Linked DNA regions of Homo sapiens: region 2 is linked to region 1. Evidence: promoter capture Hi-C in human tissues and cell types (Jung and others, 2019). All regions are on one chromosome and are shown on one strand. Each heading gives the region's core, a stretch centred on a gene start or on the middle of the fragment in contact. The rest is flanking DNA. Distances are from core to core; before and after follow the strand shown.

Region 1 (5,653 bases), core at 309-2,808:
ACTTATATTCCTCAGTGTTTCTTCTTTGCTCCAGACTGGTTGTGAAGCCGTAAAAAGGGTAACGCTGGAGCCCAGAAATCAGCTGGTGAATACCGCGCCAGGTGCCAGGTCCATCGCGGCGAGGCTGCAGGAGCCCTGGAGGGGAGCAAAAGGAGCCCCGCGCGCACCGGACAGGCTGTGCTCTTTGTTAAAGAAACAAATACAGAAAACGCCGCGGCGGGGAATGGTGGTGGTGAAGAAATAGACTGAGGCGTTTGTATGCATTAACTGTGCCTACAAAGCCCATTAAAGAGACGCTCCTACACAGGGCAACCCACGGCACCGTGTCATTGGCTTTTGTGCACTTGAAGGCGCGTGAGAGTGCCCCGCTCGAAGGCTCCCCTTTGTGTGAAAGTGTGGAAACCAGAAGCGTGCAGCCACTGCTGGGTTTTCGTTTTCGAATTCGCAGGCACTTGGGCCAAAATACTCCCACACCAGAACACTCTCTCATTCTCGCACCAACAACACTCAGACTTGAGTTACTTCTCCGTTGCGGACCGCGCAAGGAGCGACAATGGCTAGGTGCGAGTGCCCGCAGCTCCCCGGGCAGCTCCAAGGGGCCGCCCGCCGCGCTCCGCAGCTGCGCGCTGGGCCCAGCCACCCGACAGCCAGCAAACGCCGGCACCAACCGCCGCGCGGCCGGGCTGTTGGGCGGGTGGTAATTTCTGGGAATGGGGCGGGGTCGCGGGTGTACTACGCCCGGCTTTTGCTAGCGGGGAGGAGGAGCTGGCGGCGCCGAGGGGCGCGAGGCTGGCGGGGCGGTGCGCCACGTGCGTCACCGGCCGGGGCGGGGCCGGCGTCGCGCTCCTGCCCGAACCCCCACCTTTCACTAAGCCAAGGCTGAGGAGTGGGAACTGGAAAGACCGGGCTAGGAGTTTTTGCAAAACCTCGCCCCCCTGTAACTGTCAGACTGCCCGACTGTGGGGCCGTCTCCGGAGAAGGGCGAGAGTCCTGAGTTGGGGATGCGGTGACGGCGGGGCCTGCGGGGGCCCTGAGTGGCGAGGGTGTGTGCGTGCGGTCCCGGCCGGCGGGGGAAAGCCGGCGGGCGCTGCAGGTGCACGCGCGGCCCCATCGGCCTCACACGCCTGCCCCGTGCGGCAGAGCCCCCTGCACCAATCCGGGGCTGGAGTGGAGAGCGAGATCGGGGAGCCCTGGGCAAGGAGCCGGACAAGTGACGAGCGTCTTTACCTGGGAAGGCGGGTTTGGGAGAAGTTGGGCGAGGAGAAGAGGGCGGGATTCAAGACAGCAAAAGAAGCAGGTTCGGCGGGCTGGTGGGGGCCCGAGGGCGGCGGGGCCCCGCGGGGTATAAATAGCCGGCCCGCGTTTGACAGGCGCTGCGGTGACTGGCGGTGCCGCCCCCGCCCCCCCGCCGCGTGGGGAGGGGAGGAGCACTCTGAGCTGGCGGGGAGGGGGAGGCGGACTCCAGTGTCCTGGTGGAGGCGGCAGGAGGCCGAGGGGGAGGAGCCGAGGCGGGGGGTGGAGGGAGGGGGCCGGGAGCGGAGCGGGGCGGGGGCAACCATTGCTCCCAGCGCCAAGCTCTGTGTCGCCGCCGTCGCCTAGGCGGTTGGGGGTCGGTGGGGCGGCGCGGGCGGGGGTCGCTGCGCGGGGCGGCGAGCCTCTGTTTTGTCTCCTTCTCTCCCTGTGGAGCGGCTCGGGCTGCTGGGGAGGCCCCGGCTCCCTCCGGACGCTCGGCCAACGGCGGCGGCTAGTCCGCGGCCCTGCTGAGAGGGAAAAGGACGCCGCGGTCTTCCCAGGCGTCGCGGAGAGCAGGTAAGAGCGCGGGCAGCCGAGGCTGGTGAGAGGGAGCGCGAAGGGCGCGGCGATAAAGCCTGGCTGTCCCGACTGCCGCCGCCTCCCTCCGCGCCCCCGCCCCGCGCTTGTGTTGTTTGCTTCGGGGTTTGCGGAGGGGTTTTCCGGCGGCTGCGGCGGTGACACCGGCCGGGGGCTGGGGGAAGGGGGCTGAGTGTCCCCAGGCAACGGTCGCGGAGCGGGACTTGGAGAAAGGGGAAGGCGCGCTGCGCGCCTGCCCGCGGGGAGCGCGGGGCGCGGGGCAGGGCTGAGGGAAGAGGTTACAGACCCCGGCGGGGGGGATGGGCCGAGCGCAGCTGGTCTCTCCGTGTTTACATCTCTGCGCGAGTCACCTCTGCCGAGAAGCGGACTGAACTGACCCGCCTCATCCCGCGGGGAGGCCAGGGCGGGGGTCCGGCTCCGGAGGAAGCGCGTCCTGGGAGGGTTTGTGTAGGGCGGGAGTCTGCGGCCGGCGCCGGGGCTGGGCGGCGAGCTCGGGGCGGGACCTGGGAGGCTCCGGCCGCTCTGGGTGGCGGGCAGGCGGGGGGGGGCGCTGGACACCAGTTTCCTTCCCTGTCGTGCCTTATCGCCGCCGCTTACCTTTCCTTCCCGGCGCTGCTAGCTTGCACGACAGGTTGTACTCGGCAGTTCTTTTATTCTCGCTCTCCACGCCGGCACCGTGCTGCCATCTCCCCCTATTCCCCGGGAGGTAGGGAGGCTTTGCTCGGATCGGAATCTGTTTCTTAAGCAAAACAAAAACGGGCTCGTAACAGGCACGTCCAGTGACCGCCTTCTGGATCCTCGCGAAGCTGGTCCTCAGGGACCGCGCGACGGGATGGTCTAGGGGCGCGGAAGGAGGACAGGGAGGGCTCTGCCAGGGCTGGATGCTGACTCTACCCCAGGAGCTTTGTGATCAGGGTAGCCGAGCCCTCTCTTCTGCTCCATTTGGGCATTTTTATTCCATGTCCATAAAGGACTCAAAAAATATTCCGTGACACCAAGAATAATCCAGATCGCACAGTTTCTAATCTTTTTCCCTCTGCCAGCATCCTGGATGGACTCTTTCTAGGAGGCAGATTCGCTGCAGAATAGCCTTTAAGTTTAGTACTTCATTAAATGAGGAAGAGGGGGACACGTCATTGTAAAACTGTTAAAAATTCCCCCCTTTCTTGTGTTCATGAACATTTACTTCAGCTTAATGGTTTAAATTGTAATCCGGTGATGAGAGAATAGTAATCGTGTGTTTGATAATCAGATTTGTTTTCCTTTTTATCTGTGATTCTCTATCCTGAAGTAAATTATGCACTTTCTTTGGTGCCAGAATCACGGAAGGATGTATGCTTTACTAAGAAAGGATTGGATATTTGTGTTTCAGAGTTTCTTCAAAAGGTAGAATGACTTATATAGGACTGGAAACCATTAAATTACATTTAAGGGAATTTAGGAATAATAAAACTTTTTATAGAGCATTACAGTTTACAGAGTACATTCATGTAAATATTATTGAGACGATATCTAGTAGTTAAACACATGAAATAGAAAATTGGAATATCCTGGGCATTTGAAGTTTGAATATTTATGTCAACCTATTTTTAAGTTTAGTGATTTAACTCATTGGATTTATCATTGCCTTTCATTTCAGACATAAATACTCATTTACAAAATAGTCAGCTTGAGTATGGTTGGAAAGAATTTGTAACTTTGGGATTTTTCTGTCCTAAGTAAACAGATTGGTACCTGTGGCCTGTAGGGTCTGCTAATGTTAGTGGCTTTACCTGCTCATGTTGTATACCATTTTTGGAGGAGTAACAGCTTCACGATGATATAATTCACATACTAGTCAGTTCAGTTTAAAGTGTACAGTTTGGTGGGTTTATTAATTTTTTAAAAAATTACTCCATTTTGCAGGTGAACAATTCAGTGGTTTTTACTACAATTGTCCATCGGTATCTGTTGGGGATTTGTTCTAGGGCCTTCCTCAGACACCAGAATCTATGGATGCTCAGGTCCCTAAAATAAAATGGCATAGTTGCTGGGTGCAGTGGCTTGTGCCTGTAATCCCAGTTATTCAGGAGGCTGAGGTGGGAGGATCTCTTGAGGCCAGAGTTTGGACACCAACCTGGGTGACAGAGCAAAATCCTGTCTCCTAGGAAAAATGAATAAAACTGACATAGTATTTGCATATAAACTCTGCATATTCTCTTGTATGCTTTAAATCATCTCCACATCACTCATACTACCTAATACAATGTGGATGCTATGTAAATAGTTGTTATACTGTGTATTGTTTAGGGAATAATGACCAGAAAAAAGTCTGTACATGTTCATTTACAGACATAATTTTTTTTTGAGTAGTTTCTGTACCTCATTGATTGAATCCATGTATTCAGAACTCATGGATATGGAGGGCCGACTGTATATTCAGAGTTGTGCAGCCATCACTATACTCAATTTTACAGCATTTTAATCATCCCCCAAAAGAGCCCCATATCCATTAACAGTCGCTTTTCATTTTCCCTCAGCACTCCCAGTCCTATGCAACCACTGATCGACTTTCTATCATTATAGATTAGACTGTTGTGGACATTTTATGTAAATGAAACCATAAATGCGGTCTTTTGTGACTGGCTTCTTTCGTTTAGCATAATGCTTTCAAAGTATATCCATGTTGTAATATGTGTCAGTACTTCATTTCTTTTTTTTTTAAAATCTATTTTCTTTCTTTCTTTTTTTTTTTTTTTTAAGATGGAGTCTCGCTCTGTCGCCTAGGCTGGAGTGCAGTGGTGTGATCTGGCTCACTGCAACCTCTGCCACCCGGTTCAAGCGATTCTCCTGCCACAGGCGCATGCCACAACACCTGGCTAATTTTTTTTTTTTTTTTGTATTTTTAGTAGAGATGGGGTTTCACCGTGTTAGCCAGGATGGTCTCGATCTCCTGACCTCGTGATCCGCCCGCCTTGGCCTCCCAAAGTGCTGGGATTACAGGGGTGAGCCACCGCGTCCGGCTAATCTATTTTCTTTTTTATAGAGATGGGGTTTCACCATATTACCCAGGGTAGTCTTGAACTCCTGGGCTTGAGCAATCCTCTCTCTTTGGCCTCTCAAAGTGCTGGGATTTCAGGCTTGAGCCACTGCACCTGATCCTTTTTAATTAAAAAAATTTTTTATAGTCTTTTTTTTTTTTTTTTTTTGAGACGGAGTCTCGCTGTGTTGCCCAGGCTGGAGTGCAGTGGCACGATCTCAGCTCATTGCAACCTCCGCCTCTCGGGTTCAAGCGATTCTCTTGCCTCAGCCTCCCAAGTAGCTGGGACTACGGGCGCGTGCCACCACGCCCGGCTAATTTTTTGTATTTTTAGTAGAGATGGGATTTCACTGTGTTAGCCAGGATGGTCTTGATCTCCTGACCTCATGATCCGCCTGCCTCGGCCTCCCAAAGTGCTGGGATTACAGGTGTGAGCCACTGCACCCACCCTGTAATCATTTTTTTTATTGATGAGTAATATTCTATTTATGGACATATTACATTTTATTTATCTGTGCATCAGTTGATGGACATTTAAGTTTCTATTTTTTTGGGCTATTATGCTGCTATGAATATTCATGTTTTTGTGTAGATGTGTTGTCATTTCTTTGGGTATGTACACTTTTTAATAAATTAGCTTTTGACTTACCTGATACCAAAAAAATTATCCATTTTGAGTATATAATTCAATAATTTTTAGTAAATATATAGATCGTGAAACTATCTATCACCTTGAGCTAGTTTTCGAACATTTCCATTGCCTCCAAAATTCCCTCCAGCCTGTTTGCAGTTAACCCTTATTCC
Region 2 (6,555 bases), core at 3,380-5,879, 250 kb before region 1:
ATACCTAATGCTAGATGACGAGTTAGTGGGTGCAGCGCACCAGGATGGCACATGTATACGTATGTAACTAACCTGCACGTTGTGCACATGTACCCTAAAACTTGAAGTATAATAATAAATAATAATAATAATAATAATAATTGGGAGGAAATAAAGTGGTTAAGAAGAGAAAAAAAAAAAAAGAAGGTCCTTGCTTCCCCTTCACCTTCTGGCCATGATTGTAAGTTTCCTGAGCCCTCTCCAGCCACGTGGAACTGTGAGTCAATTAAACTCTTTCCTTTATAAATTACCCAGTCTCGGCCAGGTGCGGTGGCTCAAGCCTGTAACCAGTACTTTGGGAGGCTGAGGCGGGTGGATCACGAGGTCAGGTGTTCAAGACCAGCCTGACCAATATGGTGAAACCCCATCTCTACTAAAAATACAAAAATTAGCCAGGCGTGGTGGTACACGCCTGTAGTCCCAGCTACTTGGGAGGCTAAGGCAGGAGAATTGCTTGAACTCGGGAGGAAGAGGTTGCAGTGAGCCAAGATCGACCACTGCATTCCAGCCTGGGTGACAGAGCGAGACTCCATCTTGAGAAAATAAATAAATTACCCAGTCTCGGGTATTTCTTTATAGCAGTGTGAGAATAGACTAATACACAGTCCATCAGGGTATTGGGAAGACTGTGGTTTGCAAGAACACAGCAACATCAGTGGATGCCTTTTGGATGGTGATGGCCTTGTGTTAACTGCCTGCAGCTGATGAACGTGGTGGGGAACATGCTGCATTTCCTACCTGCCTTTGTGTGCAGGTGAAGCAACCAGTCTCGAAGCACTACGCAGGAGTGATGATGATCTGCGACACCTGCATCTACTCAGGCAGCCTGCTGAGCCCCAGCCATAGCTGGATCTGTGACGAGCTCACGGGCAGCAGGGGTCTGACACAATGGGGACCTACATCGTGGACCTGCTGACCCACCCGACCTTCTGGAGAGATGAGAAGTTGCACACACTGTCAAGACATACATGAGGCAGAGTGCCACCATCTGTGGCATCCAGCATGTCACCATTGATGACTTCTGTTTCAAAAAAAAAAAAAAAAAACTACCTGCCGAAACAGGATTCAACACTGTGTAAAAGAAGGAAACAACTTCACAACATCAAGATACTAAGCAATGTAGCAGTTACAACTATACAATAAAAAATTACTAGACACATGAAGATTCAACAAAATATGATCCATACCAGAAGAAAAATCAGTCAATAGAATCAGAAATGACAGAGATCATGGAATTAGCACAAAAAAAACCATTAAAACAGCTATTACTAATATAATTAAGAATTTACAAGAAAATATGAACATAAGAAAAAATGAAGATATGAAAAACAATGAAATGCAGCTTTTAGACTTATGTAATGCAATATCTGAAAAAAATTTAAATCACTGTAGGAGCTTAAAGCAAATTTAATGTAGAAGAAAAGATTGATGACCTTGAAGACATAGCAATAGAAGCTATTCAAGCTGTAGCACACAGAGAAAAATACACCAAAAAGCCAAACTGCTATGAGTGTCTGCAGAAATAAACTTCAGTAGATGTGTAACTCCAAGGACTGTAGGTAGTGGAATTGACAGATATGAAAAGTATAGAATTTCTGTGTTCTGAATATTTTAAAAGGTAAAGGATGTTATAAAGATGAGCAAGAGATTACCAGGAATGGACAGACAGGTTGGAAGGTAGTTGGGAGATGGGGAGATGCTCTAGAAATATAAAATATAATTGTTAGAATAACAAAACTCAGTGGAAAGGTTAAAGAGCAAATTTGATACAGATGAAGAGAGAATTAATAAATGAAGCCACTGAGGTGGCTCATGCCTATAATCCCAGCACTTTGGGAGGCCGAGGTGAGACGATCACTTGAGGCTAGGAGTTCAAGACCAACCTGGACAACATGGTGAGACCCTGTCTCTACAAAAAAGTTTAAAAATTAGCTGGGCATGTTAGTGTATGCCTGTAGTCCTAGCTACTCAAAAGGCTAAAGCAGAGCATGACTTGAGCCCAGGAGTTTGAGGCTTCAGAGTGCTATGATTATGCCACTGTGCTCCAGCTTGGGCGACTGAGGGAGACCTTGTCTCTTAAAAAATAAATGAGAAGATATCTTTAAAAATTACCCAGGGTATACTAAGGAGAGACAAGGAAGTAAAAATATGAAAACAATATTAAGAGATGGAAGCTTGGATAAGAAAGTCACACATATGACTAATTGAAATCTCAGAAAGAAAGAAAAGAAGGAAAAAAGTAGAGGCAATACTCCCTGCCCCCTAATATTTTGTGAAATTGTTCAAACATACAGAAAAGTTGAAAGAATTACACAGTGAACTTTTACATTTACCAATTAATTCTAGAACATTTTGTTATATTTACTGTATCATATAGCTATCCACTTAACCATCCATCAATCCTATTTTTTATGCATTTCAGAGTAAGTTGTAGACATCACCACTAAACATTTTAGTATGTTCATCATTAGTATTCAGTATTGTTCTATAGCTTTTTTGTATTTAAAATGTACATACAATAAAATGCACAGATCTTAAGTACAATATTTGGTAAATTTTTACAAGTGCATATACCTGTGTAACACAAACTGTCAAAAAAAACCATATACTGCTCTTCAGAAAATTCCCTTATGCCCCTTGCTAGTCAATCCCTGCCCTTTACCTCCCACTGGTAAGAAGTGTTCTAATGAGAGGTATCATTTAGATAAATAGTGCTGTGATTTTTGCAGAAATGATGAAAAAAATGAATTAACAGATCTGGGAGTCACAAGATAATGAAAGCAGGATACATAAACAGAAATGTATAATGACATTGTATAAAGAACCTGCAGAATTTGTAAGATCTTACAAGCAGCTAGAAAGGGCAGATCACTTGCAAAAGAACAGCAGTGAAAATGACAGTGGATTTATTATCAGCATCAATGGAAACCAGAAGTTAATGGAATAATACCTTTCAAGTGCCAAAAGATAATGGTCAACTAGAATTATGTACTTGCCCAGACTACCTTTTAAGAAGAGTGAAATAGAGACATTTAAAGATAAGTGATAATTGAGAGTTTAGCTCAGAGATATGCACAAAACTCCTAAATGACATATAGTCATGCACTACATGACAAAGTTTTGGTCAATAACAGACCGCATATACAATGGTGGTCCCATAAGATTATATTGGCTGAGTATTGCTAATCCAAAAATCCAAAATCCAAAATACTCCAAAATTTGAAACTTTTTGAGTGCCAACATGATACTCAAAGGAAAGGTTCCTTGGAACATTTCTTTGGATTTTCAGGTTAGGGATGCTCAACACTAAGTATCATGCAAATATTCCAAAATAAAAAAAAAATTCAAAACCAAAATTTTCTTGTCCTAAGGATTTAGGATTAGGGATACGCAACCTGTAATACTGTATTTTTACTGGACCTTTTCTATGTTTAGATATACAAATACATACTCGTATTACAGTTGCCTATTCAGTACAGTAATATGCTATACAGGTTTGTAGCCTAGGAGCAAAAGGCTATGCCATATAGTCTAAATATGTAGTAGGCTATACCATCTAGGTTTGTGTAAGTACAGTCTGTGGTTTGCACAATGATGAAATCACGTAAGGACACATTTCACCTTTCTCAGAATGTATCCCATCATTAAGTGATGTGTGACTGTAGTTGAGAGATAGTATTTCACAGGAGTTAAGAATATGCACTTTGGAGACTCCATAGGTGTGAATCCCTATTCCACCATTTGCTAGCTGTGGAACACTGGACAAGTGAGTTAACACCTCTGTGCTTCAGTTTTTTTTCTCACTTGTAAAATTTTGACAATAATTGTATTCATGGAATTGTTATGAGGATTAAATGAACTAATATAAAATAAAGCACTTAGAACCAAACCTGGAATATAAGTGCTTTGTTAAGTCAGAGCTTAAAAAAAGGAAATTATCATAAAAGAATGGTCTGAAGTACAAAATAGAATGGTGAGTGAATAAAATGGTGAACAAGCTTGTCAGTCCAAACATCAGTCTAGAAAAATAAGGTCCGATTTGTGAAGTTTTGAACTAATGCCTCCAATAACAATAGCAAGTAGGCATTTGGGGGAGGGTCAATGTAATTAAAATTATTCTAAGATCATTACTTCGTTTCAAAGGAAAGTTAAGATATGTTTGCCTTTACATTTTGTTAAGTTAGACACTTATAAAATGCAGGGACAGTTGTTAAAAAAAAAAGGAATAAATACAGAGCTATGAATTCCAATTCAGTGGAGGAAAAATGGAATTTAAAAAATCTAACCATAAAGTCAGTTTTTTAAAAATGCAGAAACAGCCAGCGCCGTGGCTCACGCCTGTAATCCCAGCACTTTGGGAGGCTGAGACGGGCAGATCACGAGGTCAGGAGATCGAGACCATCCTGGCTAACACGGTGAAACCCCGTCTCTACTAAAAATACAAAAAATTAGCCAGACATGGTGGCGGGCGCCTGTAGTCCCAGCTACTTGGGAGGCTGAGGCAGGAGAATGGCATGAACCCGGGAGGCAGAGCTTGCAGTGAGCCGAGATCACGCCACTGCACTCCAGCCTGGGCGACAGAGCGAGACTCCGTCTCAAAAAAAAAAAAAAATGCAAAAACGTTGGGGCTATAAAAATAGTAGCTCAGAAAAAGCAAGGCAAATATAAACAAAAAAGATATATAAACAAATCCAACTATATCAAGAATCACAATAAACATAAATGTATGACATTTACCAATTAAAAGATAGAGTTTGTCAGACTGAAATGAAAAGAAAAATCTAGCTGTATGACATATACAAGAATCTGAAAACATACAGGCAAAACAGTAGAAGATAAGAGATAGAAAAACATATACCAGGCAGATCTTAATACAAAGAATTCACATACATACATTAATTTCAGAAAAAAGATTTTAAGACAAAAAAAGATTATTAGAATAAAAAGGTCATTACCTACTGATAAAAGGTTTTTTTCACCAGAAAAAAAACAGAAAAATTCTAATCCTGTTTGTAACTAATAAAATGGACTTAAGCTATATACAGCAAAAAATGTTAGAACTACAGGAGGTGGCAAATTTCTATGCAACTCTCTCAGTTCTTGATAGGTTAAACAAACAAAAACCAGTGCATTGGTCTAGGCCCTGGGAATACAGAAGTGAACAGGCAGACCATCACCTGCATGCTAGTGGGAAGATAAATTAACAAAAATATCAAATTTTGGATAATGATAAATGAATGAAGAAAAAATCAAATATAAAGGTAGAATCTAATGGGAAGAGGTGGTTATTTTATGAGGGTGGTTAAGGGAAGGCTTCCTTGAAGAGGTGGCATTTATGCGGACACATGAATTAGTTGAGGGAGCAAATGATGTGTATATATAGGGGAATATTTTTTCAGACAAAAGGAAAAGCAACTGGAAAGACCCTGAGGCAAACATGAGTTTCACATAATGCAAATATACATATTTAGCTTTTTGAATCTGCTTAGAATGTCTTTTCCCCCCATTTTAAGTAGAATGTAGAAACCTTACATATAGGTCTACTTAACCTGTACCCCTTACGTTAGAGTTGTCATGAATTACGTCTACATATGTTTAAAACCCCATTAGACAATGGTACAGTTATTTTCAACCATCAAATATATTTTTAAAGAACTTAGTACCTGTCAATGATAGACTAGATGTGGCACATATACACCATGGAACACTATGCAGCCATAAAAAAGGATGAGTTAATGTCCTTTGCAGGGACATGGATGAAGCTAGAAACCATCATTCTCAGCAAACTAACACAGGAACAGAAAACCAAACGCCACATGTTCTCACTCATAAGTGGGAGTTGAACAATGAGAACATATGGACACAGGGAGGGGAACATCACACACCGGGGCCTGTTGGGGGATGGGGTACTAGGGGAGGGATAGCATTAGGAGAAATACCTAATGTAGATGATGGGTTGATGGGTGCAGCAAACCACCATGGCACATATATACCTATGTAACCTGCACATTCTGCACATGTATCCTAGAACTTAAAGTATAATTTAAAAAACAAACAAAACTTAAGAGGAGAATAGGAGAATAGACTACTATTTTTACACAGATATTTACCATTTCTGGTGCTCTTCCTTCATTCCTGATGTTTTCAGGTTTCCTTCTGGTATCATTTCCCTCTGTCTGAAGAATTTTCTTTAGCAATTATTTTAGAACAGCTCTGCTAGAAATGAATTCTTTTAGTTTGTCTTCATATGAGAATGCCATTATTTCACCTGAATTCCTGATGGATATTTTCACTAGATGTAGTATTCTGTGTTGACACTTTCAGTGCTTTAAAATTATTGTGCCACTTCTGGCCGGGCGCGGTGGCTCATGCCTGTAATCCCAGCACTTTGGGAGGCCAAGGTGGGTGGATCATGAGGTCAGGAGATTGAGACCATCCTGGCTAACATGGTGAAACCCCGTCTCTAATAAAAATACAAAAAAATTAGCCGAGCGTGGTGGCAGGTGCCTGTAGTTC

Evidence for each region. The method cuts DNA at HindIII sites, captures the fragments that hold promoters and counts their contacts. A contact is called where the count stands out against the background at its distance.
Region 2: a fragment that was not itself captured here is called in contact with the fragment with the promoter of ELF2 in region 1 in 1 of the 25 tissues and cell types used here (thymus).

Annotation. Positions count from the first base shown.
Region 1 is chr4:139,173,123-139,178,775 of GRCh38, reverse strand. It overlaps ELF2 (E74 like ETS transcription factor 2), which reads left to right and starts at 1,558. Exons shown (of 10, transcript NM_001331036.3): 1 at 1,558-1,809. LOC105379412 (a long non-coding RNA gene) reads right to left here and starts at 2,621. Exons shown (of 4, transcript XR_007058273.1): 1 at 2,428-2,621. RefSeq lists a cis regulatory region at 97-221, silencers at 588-967, 978-1,937 and an enhancer at 2,538-2,587. The HindIII fragment of the contact is 12,940 bases long and covers 1-5,653 here.
Region 2 is chr4:139,421,355-139,427,909 of GRCh38, reverse strand. It overlaps the pseudogene LOC100421868. Among named protein-coding and RNA genes, the nearest start is that of RAB33B-AS1, 29 kb to the left of the region's middle. The HindIII fragment of the contact is 3,007 bases long and covers 3,126-6,132 here.